Linked DNA regions of Homo sapiens: region 2 is linked to region 1. Evidence: promoter capture Hi-C in 16 types of primary human blood cells and fetal thymus (Javierre and others, 2016). All regions are on one chromosome and are shown on one strand. The core of a region is centred on a gene start or on the middle of the fragment in contact, and the rest is flanking DNA. Distances in the headings are between cores, read along the strand shown.

The links. Contacts are between HindIII fragments. The CHiCAGO score rates a contact against its expected background, and 5 or more counts as called.
Region 2: a contact is called between the fragment with the promoter of ELF3 here and the fragment with the promoter of GPR37L1 in region 1, in 6 of 17 cell types (erythroblasts, endothelial precursors, M0 macrophages and 3 more). The highest score is 10.2, in erythroblasts.

Annotation. Positions count from the first base shown.
Region 1 is chr1:202,121,265-202,124,956 of GRCh38, reverse strand. It overlaps GPR37L1 (G protein-coupled receptor 37 like 1), which reads right to left and starts at 2,040. Exons shown (of 2, transcript NM_004767.5): 1 at 1,364-2,040. The coding sequence starts at 1,993. LOC105371683 (a long non-coding RNA gene) reads left to right here. Exons shown (of 3, transcript XR_922422.3): 2 at 899-1,006; 3 at 1,224-1,370. The HindIII fragment of the contact is 24,323 bases long and covers 1-3,692 here.
Region 2 is chr1:202,008,458-202,012,149 of GRCh38, reverse strand. ELF3 (E74 like ETS transcription factor 3) reads right to left here and starts at 1,563. Exons shown (of 9, transcript NM_004433.5): 1 at 1,444-1,563; 2 at 851-1,021; 3 at 1-193. The coding sequence starts at 1,013. It overlaps ELF3-AS1 (ELF3 antisense RNA 1), which reads left to right and starts at 1,797. Exons shown (of 2, transcript NR_146472.1): 1 at 1,797-2,350. RefSeq lists enhancers at 1-663, 664-1,597, 3,324-3,692. The HindIII fragment of the contact is 11,380 bases long and covers 1-3,692 here.

The sequences.
Region 1 (3,692 bases), core at 791-3,290:
TGACCTCAAGTGATCCACCTGCCTCGGCCTCCCAAAGTGCTGGGATTATAGGCATGAGCCACTGTGCCTGGCACAGGGTCTTCTTTCAGGGTGGAGTAACTTTGTACCACTGTTAGTCAGTCTCCCTGGGTTGGGAAGGACAGGAAAGGACTGTACCCACTGCTGAGACACAGGGAGTCTGTCCAACTATGACATCATCATTGTTACATGGTGAGGTGGGGACAGACCTTGGAATAGGACCTGTGTCCGTAATGCTGATCCTGAGCCCTTCTCCGGCCAGGCAAGTCCCCCTTGTCATGCAGCATCATTCACGAAGGAACAGCAGCTTCACAGGGAGACCACAGTCACTCCATTACACTCCATGCAGCCAAAATTTGAAAGACTGTTTGCTTATTTTGTCTTACAGAGAGAGAGAGGGTGGCCTTGCTGTGTCTTGCATAAATGCACACATCAGTATGTTTCTGCAGTGTTTTAAGTTGTCTCTCTATGCTCTACATATCCTTTGACACCCATGGACTTATCGTAGACGCTACCAGAAGTAAGGGCATAGTGGTATACTTTAGAACTGTGAAACAGGCCAGCTGGAAGGACCATCTGGTCTACCCGCCCTGGTTGGGAGATAAAGAAATTGGAGAGGTAATGCAACCTGCCCAGTGACGCCCAGTATGTCAGTGGCAGAGCTAAGACTAGAGCCCCCCATTAGTTCCAGTGCCCAGAACCAGGTATCCCTTTCAGAGAGGATCTAGGAAGTTGCTGATGGAAATGACAACGATAACAATGAGAATCCCAGCAGGGAGGGAAGAACGGAGCGGTCTTTTGCTTCTGGTGCTTGTATTCTCATGGAGTGGATGCTGACTTGATCCAGAGGGGTGTGAAGGAAATTGGGCTCTCCCTTCAGGCACTCCTTCAGGAGGCAGGAGACGGAGGAGCAGCGAAGGAAGCTGTGGGAGCAGGGCAGCGGCAGGGGGTACAGAGGAAAGAAGAGGAGTCACAACAAAGGACAGAGGTATCTTGGGTGGGACAGGGGAGAAGGGCTGAGGAAGGGAGAGGGCAGCTTAGGGTCTGGAGAAAGTGGCAAAGGCCTGCCTTGAGGTTGCTCCCGAAGCAGAAGATCAGGCTGGGGCTGGAACCCAGGGGCCCCACACACCCGCCTGTCCCCCTGGCCTGCCTACTTCTCTTGAGAGCAACCAGAAACCAATACCGTATTTGTCTCCTTCTCCAAGGTAAAGGAGGAGCAAGTCAGAGCTCCAAGACTCAGGTTTTGCACACCCACAAATTCCATTTCCAAAGACCTGATGGAGACTTTGAGTCCCTTCCCTGGATTGCAGCCTCCCAGCAGAGCTCAAACAGAACACACACTCACCTCCATGAAGGGCACGGCACGACAAGAAACGTCACCCAGTAGCCTCTGCTTGGTGATCTCGTTGAAGATGACAATAGGGAGGCAGAAAAAGAGGACCAGAAAATCCCAGAGGGCCAGGCTGGCAAGGATGGAGTTCCAGGCACTCTTCAGGTAGTAGCTGTGCCACACGATGCACATGACCGACAGGTTGCCCACAATGCCCACCGCAAACACCACCAGCGCCAGAAGCATGATGGCATAGGCACTGTAGGAGCTCTCGGTCACCGGATACAGGGGGTTCTGGATCTGTAGCCTCTGCCCTGGTGCTCCTGTCAGATTGCCCCTCAGTTCCTGCCCACTGTCTGGGGTGCCCCCATCCTTGCCGGGGTTAGGGCTGGTGGCCACCAAGGGCTTGGTTGGCTGCAGGCCAGCAGGGTGAATGGGCCGGGGGTACTCCGCCCACTCCTCAGGCACATACTGCTGCACGCCCTTGGCCTCCTCATCCTCGGTGCCCCTCTTGGATCGGCTCTGCTGCTCCTGGGTCTCGGCTCTGTGCCTGCCCAGGTGCAGGGGGGCACCCCCAGAGACCCTGCTTAGCCCCACAGCCAAAATCACAGCAAGAGAGACAGCCAGGGGCCACAGCCACCGCATGGCTGGATGAGCAGGAGACAGCCAGCCCAGGAAGAGCAGGTGAGTGCAGGGGGCCCAAGAGCTGGGCTCCAGAGAGGCAGCTGGCCGGCTGGATCCGCCTCCAGTCAGGCGTCTGGCATCACTCGCCTGCCCTCCCTCCCAGCCTCCGGCCACAGGCCGGGCAGGGCCCTCTGCTGGACACATAGCACTCTTTGCTGCCCTCACACATCTCGTCCTCCACGACGCCGCTTCTCAGGCCCTACAGCATGTCAGGCTGTGGGGCCCTAAGAGGGCATCTGCTTCAGGCCCCTGAAACTAGGGAGGAAATGTGGCCTGCCTAGGGTGACACAGGGAGGTGGGGCAGAATGGGAACTGGGGCGCAGGTCTCCTGATTCTAAGGCAGCTCCTCCATTCAAAACTCAGCAATAACCATCACTGTCACTTACTGAACACTTACTAGGTGCTAGCACTCAGCTGGTTTCTCAATTAACCCTTGATTAATCTCAGATCACAAATCTGAGGTTTGTAGAGGTCAGTCACTTGCCACATAGTTGATACAAGGCAGAGCAAGGCCCACAACCCAGATCTGACTCCAGAGATTTCTAATTTTTTTTTTTTTTTCGGTTGCCCAGGCTGGAGTGCAATGGCGCGGTCTTGGCTCACTGCAGCCTCCGCCTCCTGGGTTCAAGTGATTCTCCTGCCTCAGCCCCCTGAGTAACTGGGATTACAGTTACTGTAGTGCCCGCCACCATACCCGGCTAATTTTTGTATTTTTAGTAGAGACAGGGTTTCACCGTGTTGACCAGGCTGGTCTCAAACTCCTAACCTCAGGTGATCCGCCTGCCTCAGCCTCCCAAAGTGCTGGGAGCCACCGCACCCGGCCTAAAACACCATATTCTGAGCCAGACACAAGATGTGTGGACATTTGCAATAACACGTCTTTACTGACTACGTGTTGTGTTCCAGACACTCAGAATACAAAAATGTAAAGGATCTCTGCCACCAATGAGCTTTCAGTCCAGAGAAGGAAGTAAATGTGTAAGTTCAGCATGATAGATGCTATGAAAGGCAAAGGTCATGATGCTGAGGGAACCCAAGAAAATCTGGGGGGGATCTGGAAGGCCTCCCAAGCGAGGTGACATTTGAATGGATCCCGAGAAATGGCTGTGAGCTTGCCTGACAGACTACGGGAAGGGAGGGTGCTCTAGGCAGAAGACACAGCACACACAAAGGCTGGGTGATGTGGAAGTGGGTGATGTTCCCGCAAGAGAGCAAGTCTGTCGAGGGGACTAGAGTGCAAGGGAGGTGGGGAGAGAGCATGGGCACTTGGGACAAAGAGCTTGGAAATATCAGCAGAGGAGGAACTGGACTGTAAAGGACTTTGTATGCCAAGCCAAGGAGTTTAGATTTTATCCCATAAGCAATGGAGAATATCACAGGTTGTTAAGTAGGCAAACAATGACTCAACTAAGTTATTTTAGAGGGGTCCCTGATGGGCAGCTGGGGTCCTAGCAATCTGGAACAGGAGGATGCAGAGACCGGGGGTTCTGTTGGGAGGCAGTGGGTGATGGAGAGAAGCCCAGAGTCAAGGAAAACCAGCAGCTTTGAGCGGCTTTGGCTGTGCATGGGAGGGAGAGGTCGAGGCAGAGCCCAAGCATGGGGTGGGTAGTGAATCCACTCAGCCACATTAGGGAGGCACAGTTCTGAGGACGGACCACAC
Region 2 (3,692 bases), core at 314-2,813, 110 kb after region 1:
TCCCCCAGAGGCCCAAAGACCAGACGCAGCTCCTCAAGGGCACAATTGCAGAGGGTGGCGCCATCCATGTCACATCGTGAGAAGTCAATGGCGCTTGCGTCGTACTTGTTCTTCTCCACTTGGTAGCTGATCCAGTCCAGAACCTGCGTCTTCGACCAGAACTGGGGCTGTTCCCCCAACCAGCTGGCCTTCTCTGCAAGGGCCAGGCAGGGAAACAGGCTCAGCTCAGGCCACCCAGCAGACCTTACAGCCCCATTTTTTTTTTTTTTTTTGAGATGGAGTCTCACTCCTGTCACCTAGGCTGGGGTGCAATGGCACAATCTCGGCTCACAGCAACCTCCACCTCCCAGGTTCAAGCGATACTCCTGCGTCAGCCTCCCCAGTAGCTGGGATTATAGGTGCCCACCACCACGCTGGGATAAATTTTTTTTTGTATTTTTAGTAGAGACGGGGTTTCACCATGTTGGCTAGGCTGGTCTCGAACTCTTGACCTCAGGTGATCCGCTCAGCTCAGCCTCCCAAAGTGCTGGGATTACAGGCGTGAGCCACCACTCCCAGCCCACACAGCCCCATTCCTGGAGCACACTGGGGATTCACACCTCAGCCCTTGGAGCCATCCCAAGAGTAGGGGCAGGAGGTAGCATTCACAACACCCTTGTCCTGGTATCTGACACCTCCCTCTGCCTGTCACAGCCCCACAACCCCCAGCACCTCAGTCACTAAGTCTCAGCCTCTAGCCCTGGAATTTGCCTAGAGACCCTCCTCCCTGCCTATTCCCCCATTTGTCTAACAGGCCCTTAGATGGATCTGTCTCCCACTCCGTGCCCCATCCCACCCCGCTGAGACCCACCTGTACCCTCCAATGACATCTGGGGGTTGCTCAGGGTCAGTACCAAGTCATCGGCCCCAAAGGTGGCAGCAGGGGGAACAGAGGCCAGGGTGGAGTCCTCCGAGCTGTACATCGCACTGAAGTAGTTGCTAAAAATGTTGCTAATCTCACAGGTTGCAGCCATGAGGCTACCTGTGGGTAGGGGGAGAGAGGATGAGGTTGGTGAGGGGACGAGGGTCCTCTCCTTACACTCCCAGCTACTCTGCTTTGCCCAACCCTGGGCAAGAGTAGCCCCCAGGGGCAGGAAGATCAGCAACTCTGCGGACACCGTCTCTTCAAGAAGGGCTCCAAGATCTCAGACCAGGGCAGGACCACAGGAGCCTCCAGCTGGGCTTCCCTCCTCAGATCTCTGGGGCCCTGGAGCCAGACTAGCGGCGTCATGGCCATTCTGCCTTCCCAGAGACAATCTCTCTCTGTTCTTTGACCCTCAGGACACCTACGCTCTTGCTCGGAGATCCTAGACTGGAGTGTGCAGGTTCAGAACTGCAAATCCTCTGGACCCCTCTGCAGTTTCCCAAGAGCTGGGCTAGGGAATGACAGGCGGGGAATCCTACCGGAGTGGCGGAGTCCGGCTGTGGCAGGCAGGCCGGCAGGCGGGAGAGAAATCCAGTTCCGCCAGGTAGCGCTGAGGTATCTGGCCGCTGCGCTCCCCTACCCGGCTCTAAATAGAGCCTGGAGGGAGCTCCTCCCTGAGCTCAGGGCTTTATAGTGTGTCCCCTGCAGTAACCTGAGCTGGTGTCTCATTGGATGGAGGGGATTTCCTGGCCTTTAGACTGGGCTCCTGGCCCCAGGTGATTTGCATATTCAGTGCCACTTGGCCCGGATCTTAGCAGGCAGTGCTGGGAAATCAGGCCCGGCTGGTTTAATGATTGTCAGAGTCTGTCATCCCGCACCCTCTGGGGTTGGGCACGGGGCACTGGCCTGGGCAGGTGGCGGGAACGTTGCTGGGGTGGGCATCTGTGCTTTCGGCTGCCCTCTGGCCCAGGAAATTCCTCCCAGGGGCCAGGCCAGAGATGGGCCAGGCAGGGGGAGGGCAAGTGAGGGAACATGAACCCCTGGCTGACCTGAGTCAGAAAGCTGCTGGCCCCTAAATTCCAGAGATTCAGCAACAAAGAGGCCTAGTAGGGAGAGGAGTTACTAGGTTTAGGGGTTTTTCCCAGAACACCCAGGACTCTGGCCAGGGGCTGGAAGGTGCTCCAGGCTCAATGCTGGGCAATACTCATGGATTAATTGGTGCTGGCTGGGCCTGCCAGCCTAGTCGTGGCCCCAGGGTCCCCACTAAAGGGCTCCTTCTCCAGCGCCCACTCTGTTGGCAAGGTCTTCACTACCATCACCTGCCTGGACTCCATCCAAGCATCAGGGTTGCTGCAGTCGCTCCTGAAGAGACCCGGCTCTGCTTGAAAGTTCTTCCCTCAGCGCCTGCTGGAGCCCTCCCTGCCGGAGTTGCCAGAATCCACACGGGTAAGTTCATCCCTGCTCTCTGGACCCCATCTAATCTCTGGTTCACTCGGCCCAGTTTTCCAGTACCTTCTGCTGCCCTCTAGTGGTCAGAAGCCTGACTACCTGGGTCACGTCATTCAAAGAAGAGGGAATGCATAGTATTAATATATTTACCAAGCACTTTTCAACATATTCTCTCATTTAATCCTCACACCAAAAAAGTCCTGTAAGGAATGCATGGTTATTCCCATTTTATAGACATGAAAGTTGCAGTGTGGAGGGTTCCCTTAGAATGGCTTGCCCAGGCCACACAGAGTTGGTGAAGGGGTGGAGCTGAGATTCACATCCAGGTATGCAGGTGTGTTGTACACAAAACCCTCGCTCTTTCCCTGCACAGGATTCAATGTCTTCGGGCTTCAGAGTCTTCCCATCCAGCTCCATGGCCAGAGCCCTTGCCTTCCCTGTGGGCAGAGTCCCCCATGTCTGTGGTTGTCTCTATGGACTCAGCCCGAAACACAATGGATAGTGTCTTATAGACCCTTCTTGAGACCCTGAATGGGGTAATACAGGTGGTTGAGGCAGGAGACTTGTAGCCAGCATCTGCAACTGTGTGATCTTGGATGAGACCCTTGGAGTCTGTGCTTGTTTCCCCATCTATAAAAAATGAGGTTGTCTGAATTTAATAATCCCTAAGATCTCTTCCAGATCTAGTATTTTGTTTATTTTGTTTTGAGGTGGAGTCTCGCTCTGTCGCCCAGGTTGGAGTGCAGTGGCGTGATCTCTGCTCACTGCAACCTCTGACTCCTGGGTTCAAGCGATTCTCCTGCCTCAGCTTTCCGAGTAGCTGGGATTACAGGCGCCCGCTGCCATGCCCGGCTTTCTGTATTTTTAGTAGAGACGGGGTTTCACCATGTTAGCCAGGATGGACTCGATCTCCTGACCTCATGATCTGCCTGCCTCAGCCTCCCAAAGTGCTGGGATTACAGGCATGAGCTACTGCGCCCAGCCCATATCTAGATTTTTATGCATTTGAAATGTAGGATCCGGTGGCTCACACCTGTAATCACTGCGTCTCAAAAAAAAAAAAACAAAAACAAAAAAATGTAGGATCTGTGTGACCCCCCTCCATTAATGCACAACTTGGGGAGTTCCTGGCCACCCTCAGCCAGGGTGGGTGAAACGGTTACTCAAACAAAAGGTGACTCCACCTTCTACAGATACTTCTTTCTTTAACTCTATAGCCTGAGGACTAAGAAAGTCCTGCGCAGAGAATCTGCTTCTTACCTTACCTTCTTCCTCTCTGAAGCTCCCAGGTGCCTAGGAGAGAGTTAATGTCCAGGATCCCCCCGCCCCCCCGCCCCCG